2 separate regions of the Homo sapiens genome follow, and region 2 is linked to region 1. The links are contacts of gene promoters, found by promoter capture Hi-C in human tissues and cell types (Jung and others, 2019). All regions are on one chromosome and are shown on one strand. The core of a region is centred on a gene start or on the middle of the fragment in contact, and the rest is flanking DNA. Distances in the headings are between cores, read along the strand shown.

Region 1 (5,600 bases), core at 888-3,387:
GCAGTAGTGTGATCTCAGCTCACTGCAGCTTCTGCCTCCTGGATTCCAGCGATTCTCCTGCCTCAGCCTCCTGGGTAGCTGGGATTACAGGTATGTACCAGCTAATTTTTGTATTTTTAGTAGAGATGGGGTTTCACCATGTTGGCCAGGCTGGTCTCAAACTCCTGATCTCAGGTGATCTGCCCGCCTCGGCCTCCCAAAGTGCTGGGATTACAGGCATGAGCCACTGAGCCTGGCTGATTTTCTTTTTTTTGAGACAGAGTCTCTGTCACCCAGGCTGGAGTGCAGTGGCACCATCCTGGCTCACTGCAACCTCTGCCTCCCAGGTTCAAGCGATTATCCGGCCTTAGGCTCTCGAGTAGCAGGGACTACAGGCGCGCACCACCACGCCAGGCTTTTTTGTATTTCAGTAAAGACGGGGTTTCACCATGTTGGTCAGGCTGGTCTTGATCTCCTAACCTCGTGATCCGCCCACCTCAGCCTCCCAAAGTGCTGGGATTACAGGCGTGAGGCACTGCGCCCGGCCCAATTTTCCTTTATTTTTTTGAGACAGAGTCTCGCTCTGTCGCCCAGTCTGGAGTGCAGTGGCGCGATCTCGGCTCACTGCAAGCTCCGCCTCCCGGGTTCACGGCATTCTCCTGCCTCAGCCTCCCTAGTAGCTGGGACTACAAGCACCCGCCACCATGCCCTATTTTTTTTTTTTTTTTTTGTATTATTAGTAGAGACGGGTTTTCACCGTGTTAGCCAGGATGGTCTCGAGCTCCTGACCTCGTGATCCGCTCACCTAGGCCTCCCAAAGTGCTGGGATTACAGGCGTGAGCCACCACGCCCGGCCTTCCTTTTATTTTTATTTTTTAAATCTTCCTATCATTTTTAGTAAATGACCTGGAAGCAGCAGACCCAACTGGAAGCGTACAGGTTCAAGAAAGCCTGTTTAAGCAGAAGTCTCAGTATTTCTGTGGAACCATTCAGTTTTTTTATTTTTATTTTTTTGAGACATTGTTTCACTCTGTTGCCCAGGCTGGAGTGCAGTGAGGCAATCTCAGCTCACTGCAACCTCCGCTTCCTGGGTTCAAGCAACTCTCCTGCCTCAGCCTCCTGAGTAGCTGGTATTACAGGCTGGAGCCACCGTGCCCGGCTAATTTTTGTATTTTTAGTAGAGACCGGGTTTCACCATGTTGGCCAGGCTGGTCTCAAACTTCTGACCTCAGGTGATCCGCCTGTCTCGGCTTCCCAAAGTGTTGTGATTACACGCGTGAGCCACCGAGCCCAGGCCCAAGTGATTTTTAAATAGCTTAAATCAGATCATGTCATTTCCCAATTTTAAAATGGGCAGAGATGGTCCAGCAATCCCACTTCTGGGTACAGACGCAAAACAATCAATGAAAGAGAGATCTGCACGCAGCACTGTTCACGCTAGCGAGGAGATGGCAACAGGGCAAGCGTCCAGCAATGGGTAAGCGGTGGGGTCGGTGCACGCAGGCGTCCAGCAATGGGTAAGCGGTGGGGTCGGTCCACCCAGGGAGCGCTGGTCCCCCTGGAAGGAAACCCAGGCTCTAACGCGGTCCCTCTGAGGACCCTGCTAGGCGAAACGCGCCGGCCATAGAAAGACTGTCCCGCAGGAGAGGGCGGTGTTCGGCCCGGGGTTTGAGGGGTCGGGACCAGGAGGAGGGACAGCCCGGCCGAACCTGAACGCACTTCAGGCCGCTTGAACAGCACACGCAGGAACTGCGCCGACGGAAAACTTTACTTCGTGTTCCGCCACCAAAAAAATATCGTTTAAACAAACCTGCGGCAGCTTCCCAGCTCCCTTAAACCAGGATCCCAAGTTCTCCGCGTCTCCGCCCCTGCACCCAGCCTCCGGCCTCGGCAGGCGCTTCCGGTGCGGAACCTTCTGGAAAGTACCGCGCCGCCCTCCCGGCGTCCCCACAACCCCGCCCGCACCTGCGCGCACCGGCGCTCGCGAGCACAAGTGACGGGACTGGAGCGTGGCGCGGCAGGTGGCTCCACGAAAACGCCCCTTCGCGCAAGGCTGCCCCGCGTCCTGCCGCGCCCCAGGAGGCGGGACTTCCGCCCCCGCCGCCCGGAAGCGGCAGCCGGGGGAAGCGTGTTCCTCGCGGAGCGCCGTCGGGGCCGTGGGCGCCTGCGCGGGCCGGCGCGGGAGCAAGCGGCATGGCGTTCCGGCAGGCGCTGCAGCTGGCGGCCTGCGGGCTGGCCGGGGGCTCGGCCGCCGTGCTCTTCTCGGCCGTGGCGGTAGGGAAGCCGCGCGCAGGCGGGGACGCGGAGCCACGCCCGGCTGAGCCGCCGGCCTGGGCGGGGGGCGCGCGGCCGGGCCCCGGTGTCTGGGACCCCAACTGGGACAGGTGCGCGCGGGGCTGTTTGGGGCCGGGGTCGGGATGGGGGTCAGGGCAGGTGTTACCGTTGGGATCGAGATCGGGACCAGGTTTAAGGTTGCGATCGGGTCGGGATCTGGGGTCGCCGTCTGCTTTCCCCAGCGGAGGAGCCGCTTTCCGGGGCCGCTCTGCGCGGAGGGTTCCGGGGGCGGCTGACCCTTCCCGCCGGCTTCTGTGGCCGAGCTCCGTCGCGTCCTCGCCCTTCTCCCCGCCCCTGCGAGTCCGCCCTGGGTGCCATCGCCGGAGCGCGGGCCGGGGCGAGGCTGAGGTGGAAGCCGGGCCTCCTTCAGGGGCGTTTGCAGGAGCGCGCCCGCGAGCTGCGTGCGGTTATTGAGCGTTTGAAATATGGCTCGTGTGATTCCTGAAGGGAATGCTTAGTTTACGTCAATTTAAACTTAACGCAAGCAGGGCCGGGTGCGGTAGCTCAGGCCTGTAATCCCAGCGTTTGGGAGGCTGAGGCCGGAGGATCGCTTGAGAAATTTGAAACCAGCCTGGGCAACATAGTGAGACCCCCATCTCTACAAAAAATACAAAAAAAATTGGCCGAGCGAGGTGGCGCGCGCCTGTGGTCCCAGCTACTCGGGAGGCTGAGGTAGGAGGATCCCTTGAGTCCAGGGGTCCCAGGCTGCACAGTGTGAGCCGAGATCCCGCCACTTCACTCCAGCCTGAGCAACAGAGCCTGTCTCAAAGGAAAAAAAAAAAAAGTAGTGCAGGTTTTTAACATTAGTTATGTGTTGAAATAGTATTTTTAGCATATTGAATTAAAAGTATGATCGAAATTCACCTGTTTCTTTTTAATGTTGCTATTAGAAAATGTATAATTTCACATGTTGCTGGCATTCTGTTTCTGTCGGCCAGGACTGCTCTAGCGGCAAGGATGGTTTTCCCAGTCCTAACTCCTCATTATACTCAGTACTTTGAGAAAGGGGGCACAGAATTATACTACTGTGGTTGCGTTAGGTACTTTATATTAGATTTTTATCTTTTGTTAACCTTATTTCCTCTATTATTAGCATCATACACTAAGCATGGTGTATATATCAAAATTAATGAGCCAAAATAATATAGATTAATTATAGTTATTATATTAGTTTATAATACATTACTGTTAACTAAGGTTCATGTTTCATTGAGATTTCCTCAGCTTTTACCTGCTGTTCTGTTCTAGGGTCCCACATGACAAGTAGTCTTCATGCCTCCGTAGGCATGTTTTGGCTGTGACAATTTCTCAGACTTGTTTTGATGATCATGAGTGTTTGAGGCGTCCTGGTCAGGGGTTTGGTAGAAGGTCCCTCAATTGAGACTTCTCTGAAGGTTTTCTCATGATTAGACTGGAGTTACATTCTTTTTCCTTCTTTTCTTTTTTCTTTTTCCTTGAGACGGAGTTTCGCTCTTGTTGCCCAGGCTGGAGTGCAATGGTGCAATCTCGGCTCACTGCAACCTCCGCCTCCCGGGTTCAAGCAATTCTCCTGCCTCAGCCTCCCGAGTAGCTGGGATTACAGGCACGCGCCATTATGCCCAGCTAATTTTGTATTTTTAGTAGAGACGGGGTTTCTCCATGTCGGTCAGGCTGGTCTTGAACTCCCAACCTTAGGTGATCCTCCCACCTCGGCCTCCCAAAGTGCTGGGATTACAGGCATGAGCCACCATGCCCAGCCTGTTATATTCTTTTTTAAAAATCAGAATTCTGAAAAATCAGAAATTCTGAATCAATATTCTGAATTTCTTAGGTCTTTTTAAGGAAACAGATTTACTCTGCCGTTAAAGAACTTGAAGTAGGCTGGGTGCGGTGGCTCACACCTGTAATCCCAGCATTTTGAGAGGCTGAGGTGGGCGGATCACTTGAGGTCAGGAGTTCGAGACCAGCCTGACCAACACGGTGACACTCTGTATTTACTAAAAATACAAAAAAATTAGCCAGGCATGGTGGCATGCACCTGTAGTCCTAGCTACTTGGGAGGCTGAGGCAGGACAATCACTTGAGCCCAGGAGGTGGAGGCTGCAGTGAGCCCAGATCGTGCCACTGCACTCCAGCCTGGGTGATAGAGTGAAACTCTGTCTCAAAAAAGAAAAAAAAGAACTTGAAGTAGAACCGGGAGCTGAGCCCAGCCTTTCTCTTTTAAGCAGGTGTTCTGTATTTGCTTGTCATGTCTGGGGAGAAGTGAATTGGGCCTTGTGGGTTGGGAAAGACTTATACAGACAGAAGGCATGAGCAACTACAGGAAGGTGCTAGAAGACAGCATGTTTCTTCTTGAGTCTCACCTGTCCACACTTGAAAGTTCCAGAGCCTCATCTGGTGAAATCTCCAGCTTCTTCCTGGAGGTCTCATGCAGTTTACGGCTTCCTGTCTCTGTGCCTATAGCTCCCAAATATTTTCTCTGGCTCAGCCTGACTCCCCCATACCTGCCAATTTGAGTCTTGGCCTGGTTTATGACAGGCCCCCAGGTCGGCGTGGCCCAAACGGAGCCCTTGAGTCACCACCGTGCCCTTCCACAGCTTCCTTTTCCGCCACTGTCTCAGCGAGTAAATACCAGCAGGTTCGACTTTTGCTATTCCCAGCTCTGCCGCGTTGAACTTTTTTTGTTGCTGTTGAGACAGGGTCTCGCTCTGTTGCCCAGGCTGGAGTGCAGTGCAGTGCAGTGGCAAGATCATGGCTCCCTCCTAGGCTCAAGCAATTCTCCCACCTCAGCCTCCTGAGTAGCCGGGACTACAGCTGTGGACCACCTTGCCCGGCTAATTTTTTAATGTTTTTGTAGAGACGGGGTCCCCCTGTGTTGCCCAGGCTAGTCTTGGACTCCTGGGCTCCAGTGATCTGCCCACCTCGGCCTCCCAAAGTGCTGGGATCCACTCTTTTTCAGATTCCAGCAGCTCTGGAACAGACCTTCATAATGGGAATGTTTTCTTCCTCACTGAGTGTTTGTTTATTTATTTATTTTCTGAGGCGGAGTCTCACTCTGTCGCCCAGACTGGAGTGCAGTGGCACGATCTCGGCTCTCTGCAACCTCCGCCTCCCAGGTTCAAGCGATTCTCCTGCCTCAGCCTCCCAAGTAGCTGGGATCACAGGCGTGTGCCACCAAGCCCGGCTAATTTTTGTATTTTGAGTAGAGGTGCAATTTCACCATGTTGGCCAGGCTAGTGTCGAACTCTTGACCTCAGTTGATCTGGCCACCTCAGCCTCCCAAATGCTGGGATTACACGTGTGAGCCA
Region 2 (5,600 bases), core at 1,567-4,066, 92 kb after region 1:
AGAGATGCAGTTTCGCTATGTTGGCCAGGCTGGTCTTGAACTCCTGGCCTCAAGTGATCGGCCCGCCTCGGCCTCCCAAAGTGCTGGGATTACAGGCATGCGCTACTGCACCTGGCCCAAACTATACTTCTAAAATACACCTGGCTTGGCCTACGTCTTTAAATACCTCATATAAATGCACTGCAGCTGTAAAAAAGTGTATTAATTTGTATACTGATTTGTTTCCAAGCTATGTTGTAAGTAGAACAAATGCTTTTCCGTATTGTTCTTTGGCTTAAAAAATATGTAACAGTCGAGTGTGGTGGCTCACACCTGTAATCCCAGCACTCTGGAAGGCTGAGGAAGGCGGATCACAAGGTCAAGAGTTCAAGACGAGCTTGGCCAATATGGTGAAACCCCATCTCTCCTAAAAATACAAAAATTAGCCGGGCATGGTGGCGGGCGCCTGTAATCCCAGCTACTCGGGACGCTGAGGCAGGAGAATCACTTGAACCCAGGAGACAGAGGTTGCAGTGAGCTGAGATCACAACACTGTACTCCAGCCTGGGAGACAGAGCAAGACTCCATCTCAAAACAAACAAAAAAGTAACGAAAATTGAAGAAAAGTTCTATTGTGTATATTTGTAACTCTAGATGTAAAAGGAACATTTGGTGGAATTAGTATTTCACGTTCCCCTCTTGAGAAATAAAGTTTTAATAAATTTATAATATTTTATCTGGGAAAAAAAAATTCCACAGCTAATTAAAAAATAACAGGCCAGGTGCGGTGGCTCACGCCTGTAATCCCAACACTTTGGGAGGCTGAGGCAGGCATCACTTGAGCCCAGGAGTTGGAGGCCAGCCTGGGCAACATGGCAAAACCTTGTCTCTACAAAAAGTACAAAACTTAGCCGGGCATGGTGGCAAATGTCTGTGATCCCAGCTAGTTAAGAGGCTGAGGTAGGAGAATAGCTTGAGTCTGAGAGGTTGAGGCTGCAGTGAGCTGAGATCGCACCACTGCTCTCCAGCCTGGGTGACGGAGTGAGACACAGTCTCAAAAAAAAACCAAAAACAAAAAGACTGAGGCTGACCAAAGGTACTCTTCAGCATCTCTGAGGTCATCCTAATTAGTCTAGGTGCTGAGACTCGGATCGAGGTTCACTCGAACCATTCGCCTGTCGGTCTGGGCGTCTCCAGCACACGAAGCAGTTGCTGTGGGCCGAGGCACAGGCCTGGACGGACACACACTCCCACATATGCGGGACCAAGCTGGACATGGGCTGTGCCCGCTAACGAGTGGACGGGAGAGGAAAGAGTTTTCCAACAGGACGTAGAAAATGCAAGGCCTGCTGGGAAGACGTGGTCCCCGTGTATCACTGAGGGCTCAGGCAGCAGGGAAAGGAAAAGCTCCAACCGGGAAGAGAACCCCACTGGCACCGCACGCCTGTGAGACATCACAGCAGAGTGGGGAGGCTGAGGTGGGAGGGTCCTGAGACCCAGGCAGATGAGGATTCACAGGCACGCAACACTGTGCCGAGTCAGGAGGCCAGGGTGGGAGGGTCCCGAGACCCAGGCAAATGAGGATTCACCGGCATGTGTCACCATGCCCAGCAAGAGAGGCTTTGGAACTGAAAATGCTGGCAGAGGCTGCCGTGGGACTCCCATGTCAGAAGGTTGGGGGGGGGCCCACGGGACACGTCCTGCATACGACACGTCCTACATGGGACACGGGGTGGGCTGGACAGCAGGTTAAAAACAAAAACATGCCTGTGAACTCTAAAAACAGAAAAATCTCAGGAAAAAGCACCGTTCTACATGAAGACAAGAAGCGTGACCTGCCCTGGAAGGTAGATGTGGGCCGTACCTGGATGTGGGCCATCTCACCCTGCAGCCTGACGCGGGCCTCCTGTGCCAGGGCGAGCTGCTGCTGGTACCACTGCCGGACACTCTGCAGGGACGAGATCTCCGCCTGCGACGCCTTCAGCTTGCTGGTCAGCGTCGTCCGCTCCAGCTGCACCTGCTGAAGCTGGCTCTGCAAGGCTGTCATCTGCTGTCGCAGGTCGTGCACTGAAATGGGGCAAGCACAGCGGCTCAGGCCAGCGACGGCCAACGGGGGAGTCCGCAGCTCCGCGCGTGCGGGACACAAGGCGGGACTCTCAGGGGAGACCAAGAATGAGTCAGTTCCGGTTATTCCCCATAGCTGACTCCATGAAGTCGCCGTGAACACGGCATTAGTGGGCGCTGAGAGATGCCGCTCCTGGCAGAAATGCAGGGTGAGGTTCCTGCAGGCCTCTGCTCACAGCACCTTCACCAGCTCATCAATACATAACCTCTGTTCAGTGTTTCCATTTACGACACCGATCTAATACATAGCGTCGATTCATTCACACCGAGCTCACGGCCAACAGCAACTTGACCAACAAGCCTGAGCAAAGATTCTCTAGGAAATAACAGTGGCCGGACACGGGGGTGCAGGGGGCATGGGGGGTGCAGGGGGCACAGGGGTGCACGCCCAGGAGATCCAGACCAGCCTGGGCAACACAGCGAGATCCCCCACCACCAAAAAAAAAAAATTAGCCAGGCGGGGTGGCATGCATCTGTGGTCCCAGCCACTTGGGAGGCTGAGGCGGGCGGATCCCATGAGCCCAGGAGTTTGAGGCTGCAGTGAGCCACAACTGCACTGCTGCACTCCAGCGTGGGCAACAGAGCAACCCATCTCAAAGACAAATGAATTTTTAAAAACAAAAAGAAAATTTAAAAAAATAGAAACAGGATGAATTGAAAAAAATAAACCAAAAGAAAAAAATGAAGTACATCTTCTCCATGAAACACCTCACATCCTCTCTGTGTTTAAAAACACTAGACAGTGTTGGCCGGGCACAGTGGCTCACGCCTGTAATCCCAGCACTTTGGGAGGCTGAGGCGGGCGGATCACCTGAGGTTGGGAGTTCGAGACCAGCCTGGCCAACATGGAGAAACCCTGTCTCTAATAAAAATACAAAATTAGCCGGGCGCGGTGGCAGACGCCTGTAATACCAGCTACTAGGGAGGCTGAGGCAGGAGAATCGCTTGAACCTGGGAGGCAGAGGTTGCGGTGAGCCAAGATGGCGCCATTGCACTCCAGCCTGGGCAACAAGAGTGAAACTCCGTCTCAAAAACAAAACAAAACAACAACAACAACAAAACAACAAAAAAAAACACTAGACAGTGTTTGGGGCCATCTTTAACTGCAAAATTACCCCCCAAAGCACAAACATGTAAACATGGCCCTGGAAAGAACTCCTGCCTGCAGCCCGGCTGAGCACCAAGGCAGGCAGAGTATCCTGCCCTCCTCAGCGGGCGCCTAGGATGACTCACGTACTCTGCTGCTCCACACGTGTCCATGAATACTGAGTTTGTGGTTCAAACAAATTTAATCAAGTCGGCAAATTCACACTTAGGAAATCTGTGAAAATGGTCATGGACGCCGAGGCTCTGTCTTCGACCCAACGATGTCTACCAGCCATCAACAAACAGCAAGGGTATCCGTGTGGCTAATTCCAACTTAAACCCACCGGTTAGGACTGGGCGGCCTCATCAAAGTTCAGGTTGGTTTTGCCACCCCCCGATCACTGGTCAAGTGAAGCGTGGCAACCCACAGGGCCCCAAACTACTTTAGTGTTGAGAACTTTTTGGGTTTCATGGTTTTTCCTAAGGGATTGGGTATCACGAAATGCTCAAGGACTAAAATATTAAAGCGATTACAAGAGTACTACTGTCTCTCGGCCGGCTTTCTCTTTCCTAGTATTAGAATGTAGCCTCTGTGACGCCAGCTTGTCACCTTCCTCTGTGTCATCCAAGACCCAGTCTCACAGCCTCATAGGCGGACCGGCTCACATGGAGTCAGCCCTCACAGCGGCTGCACCAGGGACCCCTGGCTCAGGAGATCCCAAGACCTGAGAGATGAGCCCACCAAGCGGCCTCCCTGGGAGGACTCTGGACCCGGGTCACTCTACACCCCTCGGGCTTTGTCTTCAATCTTCCCACCCTGCTTCGCCCTCTCCTTCCCACTCCTGTTCACGCTTGCTCTGAGCAGGCCAACCACAGTCTTCTCCGTGTCTGCTGGGCACTGGAGTGTGAGCTCTGGGACTGGCCCGGGCGGGGACTGAGGGGGTGGAAGGCGTGCTGCCAAGCCACATGGAAGCCCGCCGCGGCTTCCGCAATCCACTGCCCTACTTGTACTCTCTGGGCGAGCCCTATAGGGAGGCAGCTGGACCGACGCACTGCATCCAGGGAGAAAAGGTTGCCAGACGGACAGTCAAGGAGCTGTTCTTGAATATTTTAAATGGAATCTGCAATTCTGTGGAATAAGTGGGCAGCTCTATACTCCCAAATAACACTGGACTTTTGAGGCAGGATCACCGCAGATACTCCAGGGTCCAAGGTCAATCTCCAAGACCTAATTCATTCCCCTGGATGTGCACACAAAAATGTACACAATTCCACAAGTTCAACTAAAACTTGTATTTCCTTTAGAAAAGCAGCCTCCTTATGTGTAAACTATAAACCAATGCAACCCTCACAGGCACAGTCACATGCCGACAGAGCTGTCAGCACCAGGGAGGAGGGCGTGGCGAGGACCAGTCAGGGAAGGAGGGCGTGGCGGGGACCAGTCGAGGAAGGAGGGAGCAGCGGGGACCAGTCGAGGAAGGAGGAGGGAGCAGCAAGGACCAGTCAGGGAAGGAGGAGGGCGTGGCGGGGGCCAGTCGAGGAAGGAGGAGGGAGCAGCAGGGACCAGTCAGGGAGGGGAGGGCGTGGCCAGGGCCAGCCTCACCTGTGTTGTCCTTGCTGAGCATGCTCCTCTGCATGTCCTCTACCTTGGCCATAAGCCTCTGGTACTGCTCCTCGGCCACCTGCAAGTCGTTGTTGGACGACGCCAGGCTGGCATTTTTTGCCTCCAGCATGTTCTGCAGGTCAGTCATGGCTCGCTCCAGGTCCCAGCACGACTGCTTCAGGGTGTCCACCTCCGAGCTCAGCGAATCCTGCCGCTGCTGGCTGCTGTGGCTGCACTCCACCTGCGCCTGCAGCTTCGTGCTGAGGGCGGCCAGCTGGGCCTGCAGCTCAGCCTTCTCTTTAAGTGCCTGAAAAGATCCCAACAACCACAATGATTTTAAGAAAACGAGTCACTTCCATCCAGTGTATTAACAGGAACACAACCAGCGAGTCAGTCAGGGCCTGACAGGGGACCCCGAGACCCCCAGGCGCTCTCCCAAGGCCTGACAGAGGACCCCAAGACCCCCAGGCGCTCTCCCAAGGCCTGACAGGGGACCCCAAGACCCCCAGGCGCTCTCCCAAGGCCTGACAGGGGACCCCAAGACCCCCAGGCGCTCTCCCAAGGCCTGACAGAGGACCCTGCCCCGAGACCCCCAGGCGCTCTCCCAAGGCCTGACAGGGGACCCCGAGACCCCCAGGCGCTCTCCCAAGGCCTGACAGGGGACCCCGAGACCCCCAGGCGCTCTCCCAAGGCCTGACAGGGGACCCCGAGACCCCCAGGCGCTCTCCCAAGGCCTGACAGGGGACCCCGAGACCCCCAGGCGCTCTCCCAAGGCCTGACAGGGGACCCCGAGACCCCCAGGCGCTCT

The links. The method cuts DNA at HindIII sites, captures the fragments that hold promoters and counts their contacts. A contact is called where the count stands out against the background at its distance.
Region 2: a fragment that was not itself captured here is called in contact with the fragment with the promoter of PGAM5 in region 1 in 2 of the 25 tissues and cell types used here (IMR-90 fibroblasts and lymphoblastoid cells).

Annotation. Positions count from the first base shown.
Region 1 is chr12:132,708,705-132,714,304 of GRCh38, forward strand. PGAM5 (PGAM family member 5, mitochondrial serine/threonine protein phosphatase) reads left to right here and starts at 2,138. Exons shown (of 6, transcript NM_001170543.2): 1 at 2,138-2,363. The coding sequence starts at 2,173. LOC124903063 (a long non-coding RNA gene) reads right to left here and starts at 1,891. Exons shown (of 2, transcript XR_007063551.1): 1 at 1,790-1,891. RefSeq lists an enhancer at 1,655-1,704 and silencers at 1,875-2,334, 2,545-2,654. The HindIII fragment of the contact is 20,255 bases long and covers 1-5,600 here.
Region 2 is chr12:132,799,924-132,805,523 of GRCh38, forward strand. It overlaps GOLGA3 (golgin A3), which reads right to left. Exons shown (of 24, transcript NM_001389683.1): 7 at 4,793-5,099; 8 at 1,844-2,046. Among named protein-coding and RNA genes, the nearest start is that of GOLGA3, 26 kb to the right of the region's middle. The HindIII fragment of the contact is 7,480 bases long and covers 1-5,600 here.